Linked DNA regions of Homo sapiens: all the other regions are linked to region 2. The links are contacts of gene promoters, found by promoter capture Hi-C in human tissues and cell types (Jung and others, 2019). All regions are on one chromosome and are shown on one strand. Each heading gives the region's core, a stretch centred on a gene start or on the middle of the fragment in contact. The rest is flanking DNA. Distances are from core to core; before and after follow the strand shown. Region 1 overlaps NPHS1 (NPHS1 adhesion molecule, nephrin). Region 2 holds the start of OVOL3 (ovo like zinc finger 3). Region 3 holds the start of PRODH2 (proline dehydrogenase 2).

Region 1 (3,650 bases), core at 625-3,124, 260 kb before region 2:
CAGCGCACTCCTCAAAATCTATTTCTGCTGTGTTTACCCAACACCACCTGCAGGAAACTCCCTTGAAATTCCCAGGCCTTTCCCAGAGTTCCTCAGTTCCTTTTCTTAAAATTCCTGCTGTCCCCAAAGATTTCCTTTGAAATTTTCCTTAATTCCAGTGTCTTTCCATAGATTACTTCCTTTTTTTATTATTGCTGCTGCACAAATTAAACTTTCCATAGATTTCTGAATCTTTCCCGATATTATAATATCTTATGATCCCAGTCTTTTAACAGATTCCTTTGTATTGCCCAGATTCTCAGCACTTCCCCAGAATTCCATCCAATTAAAATAAAATTCCATTGTCATTTCTATAATTTCTAGTCTTCCCCCCAAAGTTTTCAACTAGCTCCCTAATTCCCAGGATTCTCCTAGAATTCTATTAGGCTTCTCTTTCATTTTAATGAAATTTCATTTTCTTGCCTCCAAATCCCAAGAGTTCAGTTTAATACTAATGAATTTCCGATAGTCTGTGGAATTACTAGCTTTTCTCCAAATTTTCTTTTCTTTTCTTTTCTTTTTTTTTGAGACGGAGTCTCCCTCTGTCACCCAGGCTGGAGTGCAGTGGCACGATCTCGGCTCACTGCAAGCTCCGCCTCCCGGGTTCACGCCATTCTCCTGCCTCAGCCTCCCGAGTAGCTGGGACTACAGGCACCTGCCACCACGCCTGGCTAATTTTTTGTATTTTTAGTAGAGACGGAGTTTCACCGTGTTAGCCAGGATGGTCTCGATCTCCTCACCTCGTGATCCGCCCGCCTCAGCCTCCCAAAGTGCTGGGATTACAGGCGTGAGCCACTGTGCCCAGCCTTTTTTTTTTTTTTTTTTTTTTTTTTTGAGACGGAGTTTCGGTCTCGTTGCCCAGACTGGAGTGCAGTGGCACAACCTCGGCTCACCACAACCTGGGCCTCCCGGATTCAAGCAATTCTCCAGCCTCAGCCTCTCCAGTAGCTGGGATTACAGGCCCCCGCCACCATGCCCAGCTAATTTTTTGTATTTTTAGTAGAGACAGGGTTTCTCCATGTTGGTCAGGCTGGTCTCTAACTCCCGACTTCAGGTGATCCGTCTACCTCGGCCTCCTAAAGTGCTTGGATTACAGGCGTGAGCCACTGTGCCCAGCCAAATTTTACAGCATTGTTTTTTTTTTTTTTCTGGGATTCAAGTCTTTCCCTAAAATTCCTGACATTTCACCTGAATTCTGAGGGTTTTCACTAGAATTTTCTTTAATTTTAATGAAATTACCTTTTCTCTAGAATGCCTAATCTTGATTCAGAATTCCAATTTTTATCCTAAAATTCTCACTGTTTCCCCAGAATTTTCCTAGGATTCCATTTAATTCTCATAGCATTTGTGTCTTTCCTGATTCCCTGCCAAACCTCAGAATCTTTAGTACTTTTCAAGAAATTTAATCTTTTTCCAAGATTGCCCAAGATTCTGAAGGAGAGAAGGGGCCTGGTCCTTCCCCCACATTCCTGGCCACCCCCATAGCCCTGGCGTGGCACCAACCTTGTACCACATGAGGGAGGGCTCTGGGTTGCCCCCGATAGCCAAACACACCAGCCTCACCCGGGTCCCAGCCCGGAGCTTCTGGCCCTCTGGGGGACCCTCAATCCACAGTTTCTGGGCGGGATCTGGCGGGGAGAGGAAGGAAGAATGACTTTTTCTCTGTGCTGGGTCCTGAGGCTTGGGGGCATTGCTGGGCCAGGGCAGGGGCTCACATTTTACGTTCAGGATGAGCGACTTCTTGAAGGTCTCCTTGGTGAAGGCTTCACTGAAGGCCTCACATGTGAGGGTCAGACCGTTGTCCTCCCGCCGCGCCAGGAATGTCAGGTTGGACATGGAGATGTGACCGCCATGCAGTCCCTGGCAGGGAGTGAGCTTCAGACGTGGGGACTGCAGCACCCCTATCCATCGTGCTAGAGGCCTGAGTCCATCCCAGTCCCCAGCAGGGACACAGGAGACATCTCTACCTCCCCCTCTGTTGGACCCATGGTCCTCAAGGAGAAAGCCCCCCAGGCTGCTGGACCCACCCCTTCCCTATCCACGAGTCATGCCCTCAGCCCCCTCCATGCTCAGACCCAGGAGCCTGGCCCCCGCCTCACATCCATGACTGTCTCCTCCATGGGCAGCAGCTGCCGCCAGCCCAGCCACCATCGTAGCAGAACCCGCGGGCGACTGGACTTGCTGACACAGGAGAGTGTCACGTTCTTGTTCTCAGTCTGGGATGCAGATCCCAAGATAATAATGGCACTAGGGGGAACTGCAGGGACAGAGAAGGAAGACACTAAGCTGGGCTGGATTTCTCACAGACCAGCCCAGACAGAACAGGACTGGAGACAGATGCTGAGATCTTTGGCATCCAGTAGGCATAATTTGGGGGCACACACAGATGGTTCTCTGAGGCACAGACCGACAGGGGGGCAGCTGGCACCAGGACTCACAGGTGACCTGCAGTGTGATGCCGTGCTCCTGGGTCCCTGCAGACACGCTGTTGTGGGCCTCGCAGCTGAGCTGCGCTCCATGGTCTTCTGGCCTCACGGTCATCACCAGCACACTGCGGGCCACCGCCTGGGTGTGCTCTGTGCCCCACGCTGTGGACACCGGCTGGCCATTCTGGAGACAGGGACAGGCCTGGGCCAGCTCAGGACTGGCTCCCAGACCCCACTGTCCCCCCATTCCCCATGCCCGCGTTTGCCCTCACCTTCAGCCACTGCAGTGTGGCTAAGGGATTACCCCCTCGGGCCACGCACGGCAGCTCCAAGCTCTGTCCTGCCCGCACGTGCCCCTCATCCAGGCCTGGCCACTCGATGACAGGGGGTCCTGGAGGGACTGGGGGATATCAGTCACTCAGTGGGCCTGGAGTAGCCCATCCACTCTTTCCAGGCCCCACAACCTGCCTTTGAACCCCCATGTTTCTCTGAGTGCCTGAATTTCCATAATCCCTGTGATCCCCCCACACCCCCCAGTGCCTGCTCCCCATCCTCAGCGCCCTAGTTGGCCCAGTTCTCCACTTACACAGAACATTCACGGTGAATGAGGCCTTGATGGGGGCCTCCAGTGCTGGGCTAGACGCCTCACAGACCAGCAACTGCCTATTATCTGAGCTCCGGGGTGTCACCCTGGGATGAGAAGTCAGGGTTATAGAGTCAGAGTCATCATCTGAAATTTGGGGAGTCAGGGAGAAGAGGTGGGGATGTCACCTCTGGTCCCCACACCTGGTCTAAGTCCCCATGCTGATCTCCTCTGGGATCCAGGGTTCCATGGGAGAGATTTTGGGGGTGAACAGTGAGAATTGGAGCCTAGAGAGCCCCACATCTGACCAAAACTTTAGTGCTTGGGACTCTAGAACTGAGGTTCCCATGAAGTTTTTTTGTTTGTTTATTTGTTTGTTTGTCTTTTGAGACAGAATCTGGCTCTATCACCCAGGCTGGAGTGCAGTGGTACAATCTCAGCTCACTGCAACCTCCACTTCTTGGGTTCAAGTGATTCTCCTGCCTCAGCCCCCTGAGGAGCTGGGAGTACAGGCATGCGCCACCACACCCGGCTAATTTTTGTATTTTTAGTGAAAACAGGGTTTCACCATGTTGACCCAGCTGATCTTGAACTCCTGACCT
Region 2 (3,843 bases), core at 1,215-3,714:
CTCCACCTCTACAAAAAATTTTAAAATTAGCTAGGTGTGGTGGTGCACGCCTGTAGTCCCAGCTACTTGGGAGGTTGATGTGGGAGGATCACTTGAGCCCAGGAGCTTGAGGCTACAGTGAGCTGTGTTCACTCCACTGCACTCCAGCCTAGGTGACAAAGCAAGGCCCTGTCTCAAAAAAAAAAAAAAAAAAAAACCTTCCTAACCAATCCCTGCTTATATGTCTGCCACATGCCAGGCCCCATGCTAAGCATTCTCTCCATGTGAGCTACATGGATCTTCAATACAAACTGGGAAGAGGGAGATTCCTTAGTCTCATTTTCCAGGTGAAGAAACCGAGGCCCAATGAGAAATGACTTGCTCTGGGTCCTGCAGAGAGCAAGCGGAAATGCATGGCCAGCAGACCCTCAGCACTGCCACCCTTGCTTCCCCAAATGAATTGGCACAACTGACTCTCGGGCAATGTAAAGAAATGAAGAAATACTCCTCTCACCAGCAAGCCTTGTACAGATGTCCCCCTCTGACTAGAACACCCTCCCCTTTCATCTGAAACCTTTCAGCGCTTATCCAGGAAGCCATCCCTGTACCCGTAGCCTGGATCAGGAGCCTGTTCGGGTCCCCAGGTACCCCTCTTTTCCCCATCATGGCTGGGTCTCTGCCTCACTTGCCTCTCACTGTCTTGGTCATTCTGGGCTGTCACTGGTGTGCCTCCTTCATGGACTTACGCGATCATTTTCAGTAAGCTAGGTCTGGAGCTTAGAAAATTGTTTAGTTGCCAGGCGCAATGGCTCACGCCTGTAATCCCAGCACTTTGGGAGGTTGAGGCAGGTGGATCACTCGAGGTCAGGAGTTTGAGACCAGCCTGCCCAACATGGTGAAACCCTATCTCTACTAAAAATACAAAAATTAGCCGGGTGTGGTGGTGCGCACCTGTAGTCCCAGCTACTTGGGGGACTGAGGCAGCAGAATCGCTTGAACCCAGGAGACGGAGGCTGCAGTGTGTGGAGATCGTACCACTGCACTCCAGCCTGGGCAACAGAGTGAGAATCTGTCTCAAAAAACAAAACAAAACAAAACAAAAAAAATAAAAACAGGTTGGGCGCGGTGGCTCACGCCTGTAATCCCAGCACTTTGGGAGGCTGAGCCGGGCGGATCACCTGCATTTAGGAGTTTGAGACCAGCCTGGCCAACATGGTGAAACCCCATCTCTACAAAAAACACAAAAAATCAGCTGGGTGCAGTGGTGTGCCCCTGTAATCCCAGCTACTTGGAAGGCTGAGGCAGGAGACTCACTTGAACCCAGGAGGCGGAGGTCATAGAGGAGCCAAGATCACGCCATTGCACTCCAGCCTGGGCAACGAGCAAAACTCCGCCTCAAAAAAAAAAAATTAAAAAACAGAGCTTGGATTGCTTCTTAGTCTTCTGGCTAAGAATCAAGTGTAAAACAGCTTGGCCAGTGTGCCGGGGTAGGGTCCTGGGAGCCCCTGGCTGTGTCAAGAGACCCCCTTTGGGCCAGGTGCGGTGGCTCATGCCTGTAATCCCAGCACTTTGGGAGGCCAAGGCAGGCGGATCACTTGACGTCAGGAGTTCAAGACTAGCCTGGCCAACATGGTGAAACTCTGTCTCTACCAAAAATACAAAAATTAGCCCGGTGTGGTGGTGCATGCCTGTAGTCCCAGCTACTCAGGAGGCTGAGGCAGGAGAATCGTTTGAACCCGGGAGGTGGAGGTTCCAGTGAGCCAAGATGGTGCCACTGCACTCCAGCCTGGGCAACAAGAGTGAAACTCCGTCTCAAAAAAAGAAAAAAAAATAGGAGACCCCCTTTTACTTTCCAGACTGTGGGAGGGAGGAAGAGTGTTGTCCCAGGCAGTAACTAGGGGCTAGATTATTAACAAACTAGTATTTTAGTGCCTGCTACACCTGAACAGTGCTTCTGGCTGAATGTTAGCCCTGGGAATCTGAAGATCAGAGAGGTGGGGCATCCTACCTGAGGATGCACAGCCTGGATCCTCATTTTGCCCTGATTTATCCAGATCTGCTGTCCTCCCTGCACCCTACAGAGCAGGGCAATCACAGCAGGGGGCCCCTTCAGTGTCCTCAGACAGCTGCTGTGATTTGAATAACCAGGCAGGCTGCTGGATGTCCCCTGGTGACTGATTTGCCTGGCAAACAGACCCTCAACCCCTGGGAGACAGTCCCCCTGGGGCCTTGTTTCTTCTTCCTATCCTCAAAAGCTCCCCAGGCCCATCTCCCCTTGCCTGGCTCTGCTTGGTGGTCCTAGTGCTTGTCCACCCCTGGAGGCTGGATGGTTCCCTCCAAAACCTGGGAGAAGATGGGCAGGTCCCCAGGCAGGGGTAACCTGAGCCAGCTTAGTCCACTCCCAGGGCCAGCCAGGAAATTTGCATGAAGAGAATGAGGTTCCTCAGAGGCTTCCCCTCCTTTCCCACCAGGGATAGTCATCCTGGGGCTGAGGTCTGACAGCAGGTGGAAGCAGCCCCTGTGTGTGGAGAGCCTTCCGGAGGGCATGCCCCGCGCCTTCCTGGTCAGGAGTCGGCGTCCACAGCCCCCCAACTGGGGCCATCTGCCTGACCAGCTCCGGGGAGATGCCTATATCCCAGGTGGGCCCCTCACTGTGCCTGGAGGTAAGGGGCAGGAGAGACGCAGTGTCACCATCTGGCTTTTCTCCTCAGACTGCAGCAGCCTGGGGGGGCCACCGGCACAACAGTCGTCCAGTGTCAGGGATCCGTGGACAGCGGTGAGTGTGTAACTGGCTAGCAAAGCCAGCTGTTTCGCTCCTGCCTGCTCTCAGCCTTAATGAAGCTGACAGCCCCTTGCTCCCCCGACCCATCTGCACACGCCCTCCAGCCTCGGGACCTGTCCGCCCCTACTTCTCTGTGTTGGGAATGCCTCTCCTTTCCTAGTAGTGAGCTCTCTACTGTTAGGTCTCACCCCAGGCACCAGGGCCGGCAGCCACAGGGATCTCTTCCAGCGGGGCACAAGATTCATCCCCACATGTGGATGATCCGCTTTATGTCAGAACATGGGACAAGGCAACAGGAGTGCGATGGGAGATAAGGGCTTTTTCAGCTGTGCATGCATTGGAGGAAGGAAAGCGCCAGCCGGAATGTAATATATTCATGAAAGCAAGGCACTGTTCTAGGCATGGGCTGTTATATTCAGCGGGAATAAGACAAAAATCCACAATTTTATGGAGCTTATATTCTGGTTGGGGCTGCATGTATAGACAATAAAATTAGTCAGCCTGTAATTCCAGCACTTTGGGAGGCCGAGGCGGGTGAATCACTTGAGGTCATGAGTTCGAGACCAGGCTGGCCAACATGTTGAAACCTTGTCTCTACTAAAATTACAAACATTAGCCAGACATGGTGGCACGTGCCTGTAATCCCAGCTCCTCAGGAGGCTGAGGCAGGAGAATCAGTTGAACCTAGGAGGCAGGGCAGAGGATGCAGTGAGCCGAGTCTGCGCCACTGCACTCCAGCCTGGGAAACAGATCTAGACTCCATCCCCCCTCAAAAAAAACAATAAAATTAGAAAAATAGACCGGGCATAGTGGCTCATGCCTGTAATCCCAGCACTTTGTGAGGCCAAGGTGGGTGGATTGCTTGAGGTCAGGAATTCAAGACCAGCCTGGCCAACATGGTGAAACCCCATCTCTACAAAAAATAAAAAAATTAACTGGGCATGTGGCGCATGCCTACAATCGTGTAATCGTGGGGAGGCTGAGGCACTAGAATCGCTTGAACCCGGGAGGCGGAGGTTGCAGTGACCTGACATCATACCACTTCACTCCTGCCTGGGCGACAGAGCAAGACTCTGTCTTTA
Region 3 (3,704 bases), core at 1,053-3,552, 300 kb before region 2:
GACGGAGTCTTACTCTGTCACCAGGCTGGAGTGCAGTGGCACGATCTCGGTTTACTGCAACCTCCGCCTCCCGGTTCAAGCGATTCTCCTGCCTCAGCCTCCCAAGTAACTGGGACTACAGGTGTGTGCCACCACGTCCAGATAATTTTTGTATTTCTAGTAGAGACGGAGTTTTACCATGTTGGCCAGGCTGGTCTTGAACTCCTGACCTCCAGTAATCCATCCGCCTCAGCCTCCCAAAGTGCTGGGATTACAGGCGTGAGCCACTGCCCCCGGCCATGTTCTAAATCTTGATAGGGATTTGGATTGCTCAAGTGTGTGTATTGGTTAAGGTTCATCAAAGGGCACATTTACAATGTGTGTAGTTCATTGTTTTACCTTGAAAGAAAAAAAGTACTGCGAATAATTATTGGGCTCTAATTAATGAGCCCATTATTCATATCCTGAAGCATTTAGGGGGAAAACATGTCTGCAATTTACTTTGAAATGCACCAAAAAATAAGATGGATTGATGGATGGATAGAGGAATAGAGGGATAGATATGATTTAAAGTGAGTATAGTTAAAGGTGGCGGGGGCATGGATGTTCATGTACAATTCTTTTTACTTTTCTGTATATTTGAAAATTTTTATAATAGAATATTGGGGAAAATATGCCCCCCACGAATGGTATACACCTGGCAAAACAAAATCATAGAAACAAAAAGATATGCATTATACAAGACGGCAGGCTGGGTGTGGTGGCTCACACCTATAATCCCAGAACTTTGGGGGGCTGAGGCTGGGGGATTGCTTGAGGCCATGAGTTAGAGACCACCCTGTGCAATACAGTAAGACAAAGAGAAAGAGAGAGAGAGAGAGAGAGGAGGGAGGAGAGAGAAGGAAGGAAGGAAGGAATAAAGGAAGGAAGGAAGGAAGGGAGGGAGGGAGGGAGGGGAGAGAAGGAAAAAGAAAAGAAGGAAGGAAGGAGAGAGAGCAAAAGAGGAAGAGGAAGGAAGGAGAGAGAGAGAAAGAAAGAAAAAAAGATGGAGTAGGGTTGAAAGAGAATGTGGAGATAAAAAGGAATTAATGATTGAATGAACAAACTAAGACCCCATTGGCCTAATCAGAACTTACACCCAGCCAGCTCACACCCATGCAGCTGTGTTGACTGAGAACACACTGATGTACCTCCTTCTAATTGATAAACAGCTTCTATCCCAATCCCTCCTCTGAGAGCCTCCAGCCTCCAGGCTCCTCCCTGAGAACCCAGATGACCCTGATTCCATCCATTTCAACCATGCCTGGGAGCTACAGCTGCACTTCTGCTGGCTGTTCCAAGCCTGGAGGTGGCCGTAGCATTTTGAACATCTGGCGTGCGGTGTGGCCGCATCTAAGTCCAAGGCACTCTGTCCCCGACAGTCCCGCTTGAGATCCTTACCTGCCCAGAGTCCATAGCTTCAGCCAGCCTCTCGGGGCTCAGCTCCAAGGAGGCTCCTGGCCTTCTGACCCACGAGGCTAGCTCCTTCTGAAATGGGGTGGTAGGCGGGGTGGTGAGGGGAGCCCGATGGGCAGCCGCGCCCTCCCCGCACCCCCGTCTTTGCACTCCTTACACAGAGCCGAGTACTGGTCAGCGCCGTCACCTTCAGCTGCATGAGGCTGGCCTCAGCCAGGCTGGGGGGCTCCAGGAGGCCCCGTGACAGGTCCACACACCGCAGCATAGCACCGAGGTTCCCCTCATACCACGCCTCACTGCCCAGCCAGCAGGTGTCAGGGCCCGAACAGCAAAGCCCCTTCCTGCGTCCTCCCAGCCTCCCTGGGCCCTGGCTCCCTACTCACCCACTCTTGGCAGCAGAGTCCGGCTCCTCCTCAGTGGGCACTGCCAGCAGTGGTCGGAGGCTGAGGGTCCGCAGCTGCTGCACGCAGCCCTTCACCTCCTCTGCTGTCTCACCAGCCACAAACTGCCCATAGACGGATGCTCGGAGAAATGCGCCTGAGAGCCGGGAGCCCAGGAGTCGCCGAGACCAGGCCTGGAGCTGGGTGACAGGGAGCGAGGGCTCAGCGCCAGGCTATGAGGAGCCTCCAGGCTGGTCCTCAGGATCACTGCTCACCAACAGCCCGTGAGTGACGAGTGGGGGCCAGGCACACAGCCGGAGAACCAGCAAGGCCCGTGTCAGCTCTCCTGTGCCCTTAAGGTGGAAGGCCCCGCCATCAAAGCTCAGGGACTGCCAGCCCCTGGAGGGGGGACCAGCTTGGGAACAGAGCACGTAACAGGTCCGGAGCATCCTGGGTCCCTGGCTGCCTCCACACCAGGGAAGGTTCTCTGGAGGCAGCAAGTTCACCAACTGCCCCTTGCCCAGACCAGGGGCAGTGACTGATTAACTGGGCAAAGCCTCAGGATCACAGGCTCCTTGGGGGCAATTAATTATTAACAAATGGGGACAGAGTTCAGAGTAACGGAAACGGGAGGTGAACCCCAGTAACAGCCCCCAAGAATGCTCAGCACAACAGCCTGCACTTATTAGGTAACCACCATGTGCTGGGGAAAGCAGGGGCTCCGGAGCAAGGATCCCTGGGCTCAGGACACCGGGCTTTGTGATCCAGGACAGGCTACTTAATCACTTTTGTGGCAATTGCTTCCTCTTAAAATTGGAAACGCTGTAGTGTTATTGAATACATTTGAAAATACGGTTCTCACGTTTGTAATCCCAACACTTTGGGAGGCCAAGACCGAGGAGTTTGAGACTACCCTGGGCGACATAGTGAGACCCCATCTCTACAAAAAATACAAAAATTAACTGTGTGTGGTGGCACACACCTGTGGTCCTAGCTACTCAGGAGGCCGAGGAAGGTGGATCTCTTGAGCCTGGGAGGTCAAGGGTGCAGTGAGCTGTGATTGTGCCACTGCACTCCACCCTGGGTGACAAAGTGAGACTCTGTCGCCAAAAAAAGAAAAAAGAAAAGACAAATAACCTATATAACCCAGCTGTTCCATGCTAAGTACATATCCTAGAGACCTTAAACATGGACAGCAGGAAACATGTACAGGAAAGAATGTTCAGAGGAGCAGTGTCTGAACTACCCAAATGTCCATCAAAAGGAGAATGGATACATATATGGTGGTGTAGTTATGCAATGGAATACTATACAGTAATGAAAAAGAATGGATACTGATACACACAACTGTGTGGCTGAATCTCACAATGTCAAGTGAAAGAAGCCAGACACCAAACAGGGCAAGCTGTATTATTCTTTTTTTTTTTTTTTTTTTTTTTTTTTTGAGACACAGTTTCACTCTTGTTGCCCAGGCTAGAGTGCAATGGCACAATCTCAGCTCACTGCAACCTTCACCCCCCGGGTTCAAGCGATTCTCTTGCCTCAGCTTCCAGAGTAGCTGGGATTACAGGCATGTGCCACCACGCCCCACTAATTTTGTATTTTTAGTAGAGACAGGGTTTCTCCATGTTGGTCAGACTGGTCTTGAACTCCCGACCTCAGGTGATCTGCCCGCCTCAGCCTTCCAAAGTGCTGGGATTACAGGCATGAGCCACTGTGGCTGGTCTATACTTTTCAATAAATATAAAAGCAAGGAAAGTGAAACTGCAGTAAAATGTTGGGAATACATGCGTGGGTGGTCAAACTATGAGGACAAGAAAAGTAAGGACATGATTATCACAGAAGTCAGAGAGGTGGTTGATTGTGGGGGATGGGAGGAATTGTAATGGG

Evidence for each region. Contacts are between HindIII fragments. The study calls those that stand out against the background at their distance.
Region 1: a fragment that was not itself captured here is called in contact with the fragment with the promoter of OVOL3 in region 2 in 2 of the 25 tissues and cell types used here (mesenchymal stem cells and spleen).
Region 3: the fragment with the promoter of PRODH2 here is called in contact with the fragment with the promoter of OVOL3 in region 2 in 1 of the 25 tissues and cell types used here (mesenchymal stem cells).

The regions. Positions count from the first base shown.
Region 1 is chr19:35,846,499-35,850,148 of GRCh38, forward strand. NPHS1 (NPHS1 adhesion molecule, nephrin) reads right to left here. Exons shown (of 29, transcript NM_004646.4): 6 at 3,052-3,155; 7 at 2,738-2,865; 8 at 2,478-2,649; 9 at 2,139-2,296; 10 at 1,755-1,899; 11 at 1,543-1,667. Among named protein-coding and RNA genes, the nearest start is that of NPHS1, 4.2 kb to the right of the region's middle. RefSeq lists a silencer at 1,612-1,787. The HindIII fragment of the contact is 9,341 bases long and covers 1-3,650 here.
Region 2 is chr19:36,108,679-36,112,521 of GRCh38, forward strand. OVOL3 (ovo like zinc finger 3) reads left to right here and starts at 2,465. Exons shown (of 4, transcript NM_001302757.2): 1 at 2,465-2,618; 2 at 2,691-2,755. The coding sequence starts at 2,525. It also overlaps a transcript of WDR62 not described here. RefSeq lists enhancers at 2,064-2,694, 2,695-3,324. The HindIII fragment of the contact is 22,945 bases long and covers 1-3,843 here.
Region 3 is chr19:35,810,543-35,814,246 of GRCh38, forward strand. PRODH2 (proline dehydrogenase 2) reads right to left here and starts at 2,303. Exons shown (of 10, transcript NM_021232.2): 1 at 2,090-2,303; 2 at 1,818-2,014; 3 at 1,592-1,730; 4 at 1,420-1,506. The coding sequence starts at 2,263. The HindIII fragment of the contact is 15,660 bases long and covers 1-3,704 here.